Linked DNA regions of Homo sapiens: all the other regions are linked to region 2. The links are contacts of gene promoters, found by promoter capture Hi-C in human tissues and cell types (Jung and others, 2019). All regions are on one chromosome and are shown on one strand. The core of a region is centred on a gene start or on the middle of the fragment in contact, and the rest is flanking DNA. Distances in the headings are between cores, read along the strand shown. Region 1 holds the start of STAP2 (signal transducing adaptor family member 2). Region 2 holds the start of ATCAY (ATCAY kinesin light chain interacting caytaxin). Region 3 holds the start of TBXA2R (thromboxane A2 receptor). Region 4 holds the start of TMIGD2 (transmembrane and immunoglobulin domain containing 2).

The links. The method cuts DNA at HindIII sites, captures the fragments that hold promoters and counts their contacts. A contact is called where the count stands out against the background at its distance.
Region 1: the fragment with the promoter of STAP2 here is called in contact with the fragment with the promoter of ATCAY in region 2 in 2 of the 25 tissues and cell types used here (aorta and heart right ventricle).
Region 3: a contact is called between the fragment with the promoter of TBXA2R here and the fragment with the promoter of ATCAY in region 2, in 3 of the 25 tissues and cell types used here (IMR-90 fibroblasts, pancreas and spleen).
Region 4: a contact is called between the fragment with the promoter of TMIGD2 here and the fragment with the promoter of ATCAY in region 2, in 3 of the 25 tissues and cell types used here (lymphoblastoid cells, mesenchymal stem cells and small bowel).

Annotation. Positions count from the first base shown.
Region 1 is chr19:4,337,429-4,340,216 of GRCh38, forward strand. It overlaps STAP2 (signal transducing adaptor family member 2), which reads right to left and starts at 1,399. Exons shown (of 13, transcript NM_001013841.2): 1 at 1,224-1,399. The coding sequence starts at 1,325. The HindIII fragment of the contact is 19,957 bases long and covers 1-2,788 here.
Region 2 is chr19:3,879,378-3,882,160 of GRCh38, forward strand. ATCAY (ATCAY kinesin light chain interacting caytaxin) reads left to right here and starts at 1,308. Exons shown (of 13, transcript NM_033064.5): 1 at 1,308-1,631. RefSeq lists an enhancer at 983-1,513. The HindIII fragment of the contact is 15,458 bases long and covers 1-2,783 here.
Region 3 is chr19:3,605,539-3,608,259 of GRCh38, forward strand. It overlaps TBXA2R (thromboxane A2 receptor), which reads right to left and starts at 1,337. Exons shown (of 3, transcript NM_001060.6): 1 at 992-1,337. It overlaps CACTIN-AS1 (CACTIN antisense RNA 1), which reads left to right and starts at 1,709. Exons shown (of 4, transcript NR_038865.1): 1 at 1,709-1,871. RefSeq lists enhancers at 314-888, 1,462-2,035 and silencers at 1,236-1,285, 1,396-1,475. The HindIII fragment of the contact is 21,214 bases long and covers 1-2,721 here.
Region 4 is chr19:4,301,123-4,303,921 of GRCh38, forward strand. It overlaps TMIGD2 (transmembrane and immunoglobulin domain containing 2), which reads right to left and starts at 1,267. Exons shown (of 5, transcript NM_001169126.2): 1 at 1,218-1,267. The coding sequence starts at 1,263. RefSeq lists an enhancer at 728-1,273. The HindIII fragment of the contact is 29,023 bases long and covers 1-2,799 here.

The DNA.
Region 1 (2,788 bases), core at 149-2,648, 460 kb after region 2:
ACCATATTGGCCAGGCTGGTCTCAAACTCCTGACTTCAGGTGATCCACCTGCCTCAGCCTCCCTAAGTGCTGGGATTACAGGTGTGACCCACTGCGCCTGGCCAGCAAGACCCCATCTTCAAAAAAAAAAAAAAAAGGCTGGGTGCGGTGGCTCATGCCTGTAATCCCAGCATTTAGAGAGGCCGAGACAGGTGGATCACCTGAGGTCAAGAGTTCAAGACCAGCCGGGCCAACAAAATGAAACACTGTCTTTACTAAAAATACAAAAATTAGGTGTGGTGGTGCGTACCTGTAATCCCAGCTACTCGGGAGGCTGAGGCACGAGAATCGCTTAATCGTTTGAACCTGGGAGGTGGAGGTTGCAGTGAGCCGAGATGGTGCCACTGCACTGCAGCCTGGGTGACAGAGTGAGACTCAGTCTCAAAAATAAATAAATAAAATAAAAGCCAGAAGAGGCAGTGCATGCCTGTGGTCCCAGCTACTCAGGAGGCTGGGGCGGGAGGTTCACTTGAGCCCAGGAGTTTGAGGCTACAGTGAGCCATGATCGTGCCCCTGCACTCTAGCCTGGGTGACAGAGCAACTCTGTCTCTAACAAAAAGAAAGAAAGAAAATGAATATGCGGCATTGGGAAGGAGAGATAGGGCCTCACGGGGAACGGAGGGGCTGGGACTTTATTCTGAGGGAGACATAAGCACACACACACACACACATGCACGCACTGTCCATGGCAACTATCTGTCCTGTGGAATGTGGCCCCCGCTAGCTCTTACTGTCCTCACATGTCACCTGTCCTGGCCTTCGCCCCAGCAGCTGAGGTTCACGGAGTTTTTCCTGGGCTGGGAGCGGGAGGAAGCTCGGGAGTCAGAGGACTCCCCATTTCCTGGAGGAAGTCCCTGATCTTGTTTGTATTCAAGAGAGTGAACGAGAGACAAAAGCAAAGATTGAGACAAAGAGAGAGGGAGACTGAGACAGACATCGGGAGAGACAGACGGGGCCAGGGAGAGAGAAAGAGAAAAAGAAACCAAATTCAAAGACACACGGAGACAGAGATAGACGCACAGAGAGGCAGATGGCCAGAACCCACCCCAGTCCCCCAGCACGTGTCCTGCCCCATCCAGCACCCACCCCGCCCCCCCTTGGCGAGTGGGGAGACAGGGACTCAGAGAGGTGCCGCAGCTCCCCACGGTGGCCCAGCAGGGCCAGCCCCCGCCTCCCCACCTTACCCGGTCACAGGGCCCCTTCTTCTCTAGAAAGCTCTCATAGTAGTGTGAAGGCAGGACACCCTTAGGCTTGGGGACACGGGGTGGCCTCAGGGCAGAGGCCATGACGGAGCCAGGGTCTTCCGCCTGGCCTCTCCTTCCAGTGGGTGCCCCAGCTGGGCCGGGAAGCTGAGAAACAGGTTTCAGGGGAGTTTCCTGTGTCAGCCCGTCAACTCCCTCCCCTGCCAGGGCTGGGCAGAGGCTGATCCCAGCAGGTCCAGTGATCCTAGGGAAATCCCCGCCTCTCCGGTGTGGAACTGAGAACAGAGAGAATGTATAAGTCTACTTGAATGGGAGAATAATCTTCGCTATATCTGCAAAGACAGAGACATGGTCTGTCTCTTTATTTATTTATTTATCTATTTTTCCTATTTTGAGACAGAGTTTCACTCTGTTGCCCAGGCTGGAGTAAAGTGGTATGATCTTGGCTCACTGCGACCTCTGCCTCCCGGGTTCAAGAGACTGCGCTGCCTCCCGGGTTCAGAGACTGAGTCCAAGCTCAGTCTCCTGACTAGCGTGGATTGCAGGTGACCGCCACCACGCCTGGCTAATTTTTGTATTTGTAGTAGAGACGAGGTTTCCCCATGTTGGCCCAGGCTGGTCTCGAACTCCTGACCCCAAGTTTTCTGCCCGCCTCAGCCTCCCAAAGTGCTGAGATTACAGGCATGAGCCACCACACCTGGCCCTTTCTCTTACTTTGATGGACCCTAATGATTACATTGGGCCCACCTGGATAATCCACGCTACTCTCCCTATTTTAAAGTCAGCTGACTAGCAACTTTAATTTCATCTGCAATTTTTCTTTTTTAGACGGTGTCTCATTCTGTTGTCGATGCTGGAGTGCAGTGGCACGATCATAGTTCACTGCAGCCCTGACCTCCCAATCTCAAGCGGTCCTCCTGCCTCAGCCACCCGAAGAGCTGGGACTATAGGTGGGCACCACCACACCCAGCTAATTTATTTTCCTTTTTTAAGGATGAGTTCTCACTATGTTGCCTAGGCTGGAGTACAGTGGGGCGATCATGACTCACTGTAGCCTCGACCTTACAGGCTCAAGTGATCCTCCAGCCTCAGCCTCCAGAGTAGGTGGTACTACAGTTGCATGCCACCACACCTGGCTAATTTTTTTTTTTCTTTTTTTTGAGACAGACTCTCGCTCTGTAGCCCAGGCTGGAGTGCAGTGGCGTGATCTCGGCTCACTGCAAGCTCCGCCTCCCAGGTTCATGCCATTCGCCTGGCTCAGCCTCCCAAGTAGCTGGGATTACAGGTGCCTGCCACCACGCCCAGCTAATTTTTACACTTACTAGAGACAGGTTCTTGCTATGTTGCCCAGGCTGGTCTTTTTTTTTTTTTTTTTTTGAGACAGAGTCTTACTCTGTCACCCAGGCTGGAGTGCAGTGGAGCGATCTCGGCTTACTGCAACCTCTGCCTCCCAGGTTCAAGCAATTCTCCTGCCTCAGCCTCCCGAGTAGCTGGGATTATAGGCACGTGCCACCATGCCCAGCTAATTTGTTTGTATTTTTATTTTA
Region 2 (2,783 bases), core at 58-2,557:
CCAGCTACTTGGGAGGCTGAGGGAGGAGAACCACTTGAACCTGGGAGTCGGAGGTTGCAGTGAGCCAAGATCGCACCACTGTACTCCAGCCTGGCAACAGAGCGAGACTCCACCTAAAAAAAAAAAAAAAAGAAAGAAAGAAAGAAAGAAAGAAAGAAAGAAAGAAAGAAAGAAAGAAAGAAAGAAAGAGAAAGAAACACATAGGGAGCTTTTCTTGTGCCCCAGCACTGTGTTTAGTGCTGTCTATGCATTATCTCATAATGTGGAAAAGCCATAGCGGCTCCATTTCACAGATGAGAAAAACTGAGGCCCGCAGGTGAGATCACTCATGCCCACTGGTCTGCCAGCTGGGGAGTGGCTGGGCTAGAGTTCAAACCCACTTCCAGTCCGACTGCACGGCCTGCACTCTCCACCCTACCATCTTCCACAGTCTCCTTGAATTCCTCCAGGGCGAGGCCACGCCAGCGCACAACTGCAGGGGGCGCCGTTCCCACAGCAGCCCTGCAAAGTGAGTGTGCCTGAGAAACTTCCGCCTCCCCTGCACCCAGCCCTGTTTAGGGCACGAGGCTGAATCAATGGTAAGTGACCATCTAATGGACCCACAACACGGTGACCTGGGGACAGTCATTTCTTTCTTTTTTTTTTTTTTTCTTTGAGACAGAGTCTCCCTCTGCCGCCCAGGCTGCAGTGCAGTGGCGCCATCTCGGCTCACTGCAACCTCCGCCTCCCAGGTTCAAGCGATTCTCCTGCCTCAGCCTCCCGAGTAGCTGGGATTACAGGCGCACGCCACCACGCCTGGCTAATTTTTGTATTTTCAGTAGAAACGGGGTTTCACCATGTTGGCCAGGCTGGTATCGAACTCCTGACTTCAGGTGATCCTCCCTCCTCGGCCTCCGAAAGTGCTGGGATTACAGGCGTGAGCCATGGCATCCGACCTGGGGACAGTCATTTCTTTGCCTGCACAGACTTTTTGGGGGATGCCACCCCTCACCCCTGCTCCCTTTGCAAGGAGAAGTGCCAAGAAGACCTTTCCCAACTCCCCCACCCCCCATTCTCTAAGGAATGAGGCCATCTTGCCATTTATTTATTTATTTGTCCGTTGTTTTGTTTTTAAATCTCTGATGCGCCATCAGAAAATTATTTCTGCCTCTGCCCCTGGCGTGGCTTTCGGAGATGCTTGTCTGTCAGCCAATGGGGAGGATCGGATTCTGGCAGGGGGCTGTGCTTTTCCGTCAGGCCGCCACCCCCCACCCCCTCCTCCCTGCACACAAAAGCAGCATAAATTAACCGTCTTCGGGAAGCCGAGCCTCTGCCAGCCCTGAGCTGGGAAGAAGCAGCTACCTCGGAGGCAGGGCGCGCAGGCGGGCGGCGATGAGAGGGGGCGCAGCCGCAGCCCCGCGCTGGGGAGCCCACCGCTAACCCTGCACCCCACCCACCCCTGCACAAAAGAGCTGGCGGGCGCTGGCCACGTCGCCCTGGGTGACCTTCCTCGGATGCAGAATCCGCCCCTGCGAGCATCCTCTTCCTCCTAGGCTCTGAAGGCCCGGGGAGCGTGAGCGATGCCCAGCTGCACCCGGGCAGGGCTCGCCTTTGTTTGCCAGTAAGGAGGAGAGGCTGTCTCAGCTGCAGAGGTGAGTGCGCGCATCTCCCCTTCTCCCAGGATAAACCGTCTCCCTGGAAGGTTTATCCGGCAGCCTTTGCCGCCTCTAAATCCCTTTCCAGCAGATGGGGCGGGTGGGAGCAGAGAGCCACGGTCTTGTGACTCCGTGAAGGCCCTCACATCCCTGTTCCCGGTACCAGGGAAAACCGTTCCCTGAGCTGCGCCCAGCAACACAGTTTACCTTCCGCGCGCACCGTTCCCCTCTAAGTGCACCATTTTCAGGACACGCTGAGAGCTCGGGCGGATGAAAACCTCAGCTTCTCTCTGGGACGCTGAAATAGACCCATCCTAGCCCTATGTATTTCCTATTTATAACGCTAGGAAGGCCACCAGCCGACGATTTCGGGAAAAAAAAAAAAAAAAAATCTAAGTGTGTCGATAAAGGCTGTCCTGTGGGGTGGGGAGGAAGGGGGTGGTTTATGGTTTAAGACACAGATGCCTCCTCCTTATTGGAACTCGTATGTGATTTGTTAATAATCAGACATCAGGGCTCAAATGAGCGCTTCACTCCCGTTCCTTGATGTCACTGTCTTCTTTTGGCCGTCCCCAAATGCGAAGCCAGGATCTGAGTGCAGGAGTGTCCGGGGCCCACTGAGGACCCACCCCACCCCATCCTTAGAAGACTGTGGAGTCAACGCCTGTGGCTGCAGCTGGCAGGGGGTGGGGGTCGGGGGCGGGGCTGGTGGGAGTGTTCCTGGGGGCTGAGGTCACACCCAGCTCAGTATAAGGAAGGGAGAGGCGAAGACCCCTTCCTCCGGAGAGCAAATGCGTTTCTACTGCCGAGGAGAACTTACCCTCGCGGGAAGGGCCTGGCTGGCTGCTGCCACCGCCCCCCCCCCGACCCCATAGCATCCAGGAGGGATTTTTTTTTTTTCCATGCTGCGTGTTACTGTCCCTCCTCCAAGCATGAATGACGACATTGAGGACAGAGAATCGAGTGAGAAACGCTCACCCTGTACGGGGGAGGGTCTAGTTTTAGCCGTCCCCTCCCCCCACTTCCTCATCTGGCTGAGGCTGCCTCTGGGTCCTTCCTTGCTAAGCCACAGTCCCCTGTCCCCGATGCAAACCCGATATCTATGCTGGGGGGCTGCAGGTAACCTACTCCACAGAGAGGCAGCCTGGA
Region 3 (2,721 bases), core at 87-2,586, 270 kb before region 2:
AGATGCACAGACATGCACAGACACACATACAGAAACATGGCAGATACACAGACACACACAGATAGACACACACAGAAACACCACAGACACACCCAGACAGAAACATGACAGACACACAGGCAGAAATGTGACAGACAGAAACACAGTAGACAGACGCACAGGCATGCACAGACACACATACAGAAACATGGCAAATACATAGACACATACAGATAGACACACACAGATGGAAACATGACAGACACAGACACACACAAGCAGAAACACAACAGACACACAGACACACGCAGATAGACACACACAAGCAGAAACACAACAGACACACAGCCACACACAGACACATACAGGCAGAAACACGACAGACATAGACACACACAGATACACACATAGGCACACAGGCAGAAATGTGACAGACACAGACAGAAAAACACAGACACACAGGCAGAAACACAACAGGTACATAGATACAGACAGACACAGAAAGACACACAGAAGAACACACAGTATTTAACAGTCACAGACTCTCGGCAGAAACAAACACACGGTCACACACACAAAACCACCACACACGCACAGACACAGACACACAACCAGGGCCATGCATGGTTCACTCCCAGAGACAAGATCACACACACAGCCGCACAACCACACTCGATCCCTGCCACACCCAGGGCCTGGGCCCCCTCCCCGGCTGCAGCCCCCTGAGTCTGGGACCCCCATTCACAGCCATGTGGCCCCACAGAGACCAGAGAGCCCCCCGGACAGAATCAGCCTGGGCCGCACCCAGACCCAGCCGCCTGGGCGCCCAGGGCAGGCCTCAGGGCACCATGCCACCCGCCGGGCCACACAGGGGACACCTGGCACCTGGCCGCTGTCACCGCGGGCTTTGCGACACACCCACAGCAGGGCAGGGCCAGCGCCGGATGCGCCCAGCAGCCCGGGCTCACACCAGAGCAGTGCATCCCGCCCTAAGCCAGCGGGGCGACCTCACCTTCAGAGACCTCATCTGCGGGGCTCCCACCTGGCTGGATCCCGCGCCCGGGGGTCCGGGCGCCGTCTGGAGCTGAGCAGGCAGATGTGCGGGCGCCGAGGGTGGGGCGAGGGCTGGGGGCGGGCAGAGGGAGGGGAAGGACGGGCTCGAGCGGGACCTCCCAGGGAAACTGAGTCAGTCTGGCTGTGACCAGGGGCGGGCCCAGCAGAGGACCCACACAGATGGAGGGCGTGGCGGCACAGGACGCCCTGGGGTCGCGGCCTGGAGGGGTCCGCGGGGGCTAAGCCGAGCTGGGACGGGTGGGGGCCGCTGGCAGCCCGCGGCTCGCTCTCTCCGTCCAGTCTCTGTCTCCCGCTGTCTCTCATCAGCCCCGCCCACCCTGCGCTGGCCACGCCCCTCGGGCCCGGGCCTGGCTGACTTGGAGTCAGTGGGTGCCCCCCGCACGCCGGGACACCCTACAGCCTTCTGGGGAAGGCGGCGCCCTTGGGACCCCCAGGCCACCGGTGGCAGGGATGCAATGGCCCGCGTAGGGGTGGCAGGGGCGCTTCCTCGGGAGCCTCAGCCCCTCCAGCCGCCCAGCGCCCTGCCAGGCCTCTTCCCGGCGCTCCCGCCGCCAGGCCCGCATTATTCACCATCTGGGCAGCACCCAAGGCCTGGAGGGGGCGGGGCAGGTCCAGGCGGATCGGCTCCCGGGGGTCGCCCAGACTCCAGGGCTCCAAATTCACTGGGTGCGCTGGAACGCGGCACACAGTAGTAGTATGCCCTGCTTAATACATACAGGACATATTTGAGGCCCCTTCCAGGGGTGGGGTGGGAGGACAGAGGGATGGGGGGTGCACCAGACGACACAGCCAGACTGAGAAAGGTGGTCCCAGAGCAGGTGAGCCGGGAGGGCTGGGGTGATGGCATCGCATGGGAGGGTCTCTTGAGGAGGCTCGGAGGTGGCTTTGGAGCCAGAGGAGGAACAGTCTGGAGCCGGGAGGCTGCAGTGGGGGATGGGCACTCTTTCCTGGCCACCCCCCAGCTCGGGCTGGGGAAGGAGGGATGGAGCCCAACAGGAATGGCTGAGAAGGTGCCGGACGCAGGGACTGGGACCGTCTCTTTGCAGAGGGGGGACCTTGGGCTTCCTTGGCCTTGTTTGTACACCCGAGCCGGACAGAACCTTGAGTTAGGGACCTGGAGTGGGACCGGACAAGCTGACCTTGCCCTGACTGCACCCCACCCCGTCCCCTGGGCCCGGGAGGGCTGCTAGTCCAGGCTGTGAGTGAGGGGTATTCCCAGCCTGGCCCGGCCCTCTCGTCAGCCCAGTCCGGAAGCCCCTTCCCCGGCTACCCCGCCCACTATCCTTCCTCCTCCTGGCCTTCGGCCACACCCAACCTCCCTCCCAAAGCTCTATCCCATTAAGTCACCAGCCATTTAACACAACTTCTCTCTTTCCTGGCAAGGAGGCTATCCAACTCCTATGGATGTGGCAAAACCCTGGCTCCAAGGCTGCTTTCCCGTGAAGCCGACCTAATCTCCAAGTCTTACTCTCCCCAACCCCTCTCTGTGTTCAGCTTATACAGTGGGACAATTATGAGCTCCAAGTGAGACCTGAAACCAGGCCTGCCCTTCAGGATGCCCTAGGCTGGAGAATGAACTGGACACAGGCTGTTCCAGCCCCCTGGGGTCAGGGCTGGGCCAAAGGAAGAGACAGGGCCTAGGGAAGCCCAGAGGTGAGCTAGGAAGAC
Region 4 (2,799 bases), core at 17-2,516, 420 kb after region 2:
CTACCACGCCCAGCTAATTTTTGTATTTTTGGTAGAGATGGGGTTTCACCAACATGGCCAGGCTGGTCTGGAACTCCTGACCTCAAGTGATCCACCTGCCTCAGTCTCCAATTTAAGTTTTAATAAAAAGACCTTGGTTGGGTGTGGTGGCTCATGCCTGTTATCCCAGCCCTTTGGGTGGCCAAGACTGGGTGATTGCTTGAGGCCAGGAGTTCAAGACCAGCCTGGGCAACATAGTGAGACCCATCTCTAAAAAACAAAAATGACTGGGCACGGTGGCTCACGCCTGTAATCCCAGCACTTTGGGAGGCCAAGGTGGGTGGATCATGAGGTCAGGAGTTCGAGACCCACCTGGCCGAGATGGCGAAACCCCGTCTCTACTAAAAATACAAAAAAAATTAGCCAGGCGCAGTGGCGCGCGCCTGCAGTCCCAGCTACTCGGGAGCCTGAGGCAGGAGAATCTCTTGAACCTGGGAGGCAGAGGTTGCAGTCAACCGAGATCGCGTCACTGCACTCTAGCCTGGGTGACAGAGCAAGACTCCTTCTCAAAACAAAACAAAACAAACAAACAAAAAAACACAAATGAACAACAAAAAAGTGCAAGCGGCTGGAATCAGAGGAGAGGGAAAGAGGAATGGAGGTTTTCGCCCCAGGAAATGTGTGAAGGGCAGCAGCCTTTGTCCTTAATTGGAAACACAGAGGGAGCTGCTGCCGGAGTAGAAAGTCTGCTTTTAGCTGTGAGAAGTCTGACGTGTCTGTTAGACCCCCGGAGAAGTTGAGGTTATGTGAAGTTCCTGGCATTTGAGATGCAATTGCAGAGGAGGGTAGAGACATGAGATCTGGAGAAGGGTATTAGGCAGCTGGAACAGCAGGTGCAAAGGCTCGAAGGCCAGATCCAGCCTTCCCATTGCGGAAACAGAGAAAGAAAAGTCCCCAGGCTAGAGCAAGAGGGAGGGAGCAAAGGCACTGCGGAGGGTGGAGATGAGAGAGGCCAGGCCAGGCTGGTATGTAGGGCAAGGTTTAGATTGTATCCTAGGGGCCCTCAGAGGATCCTTCCTTAATCCTCCAGCCCCCATCACGTTCTGAGTCTCGGAGGGAGATGGGCCTTATCTGACAGTAGAGAGACTGAAGTTTAGAGGGGCCCTGAGCTGGGGGGCAGGCAGCTGGGGATGACAGCAAGAGTGGGGTTCAGAGGGGAGGGAGGCCCAGATACTCACCCCAGATCTGCACCAGGAGGCCCAGCACCATGCCCGGGGACCCCATTCCTGGCCCATCACCCCCCTCTCCCCCTCCCAGTTGACAGACTTCCTGCCACAATCTCCGCCTCCCGCTGCAGAAGCAGATGCAACACCCAGGGCCAGACAACAGACGTCCGGTGTTCCAGCCTGCTGGGGGCTCCACTTCCTGCCACCTCGTGCCTCAGTTTCCCCAATGCATTTTCTATCTGAAAGGCAGTGTACGGACCAGGCAACATGGCTCATGTCTGTAATCCCAGCACTTTGGGAGGCCGAGGCAGGTGGATCACCTGAGGTCAGGAGTTCGAGACCAGCTTGGCCAACATGATGAAACCCCTACTAATTTCTACTAAAAATACAGAAATTAGCTGGACATGGTGATGGGCGCCTATAATCCCAGCTACTTGGGAGGCTGAGGCAGGAGAATGGCTTAAACCCGGGAGGCGGAGGTTGCAGTGAGCCAAGATCACGCCACTGCACTCCAGCCTGGGCGACAAGAGTGAAACTCCGTCTCAGAAAAAAAGAAAAGAAAGGCAGTGTATGCAAGTGAGTGGGAGGAATCCACCCCTGTGAGCTTTCTGGAAGGCTCTACATAAACACATCTAGGTACAGGAAGACACAGTGCGAGAGCAGGTGGCTCCGTGGGGGAGGGGCAGGCGACATAGGCCTGAGCAGTGAGTTAAATGACAGGGTCCCTGCCTCAATTATTTTGCTCCCAAAATGTCTTTCTTTTGCTGGGCGCTGTAGCTCACACCTGTAATCCCAGCACTTTGTGAGGCTGAGGTGGGAGGATCACTTGAGCCGAGTTTAAGATCAACCTGGGGTAACACAGCGAGATCCAATCTCTATTAAAAAAAAAAAAAAAAAAAAAAAGATACAGGCTGGGCATGGTGGCCCAGGCCTGTAATCCCAGCACTTTGGGAGGCCAAGGCGGGTGGATCACCTGAGGTCAGGAGTTCAAGACCAGCCTAGCCAACATGGCAAAACCCGGTCTCTACTAAAAATACAAAAATTAGCTGGGCCTAGTGGTGGGCGCCTGTAGTCCCAGCTACTCAGTGGGGTTGAGGCAGGAGAATCGCCAGAACTGGGGAGATGGAGATTACAGGGAGCCGAGATCCTGCCACTGCACTCCAGCCTGGGCGACAGAGTGAGACTGTGTCTCAAAAAAAAAAAAAAAGATACAAAACCAACCCAGGGTGATGGTGCATGCCTATAGTCCCAGCCACTCGGGAGGCTGAGGCAGGAGAACCGCTTGAGCCCAGGAGTTGGAGGCTGCAGTAAGCCATGATTGCGCCCCGTTACTCCAGCCTGGGCAACAGAGTGAGTCCGTCTCTAAAAAAAAATAATAATAATAATTTAAAAAATCTTCCTTTGAGGTTCAGAGAAATAGATTTCTGTTGATAACTTTGGGTCCTATTACATGACCTGCTTGGGGGTCCCGTGGAGGAGGTTCATGGGCTCTCGAGTTCCTCCCAGCCCTGCATCCCTCACCCCTGATTCTGTAGTGCATTCTGGGAGGAGGTGGCGAACCCACAGACCTCAATGTCTCAGACCCAACTGCAGA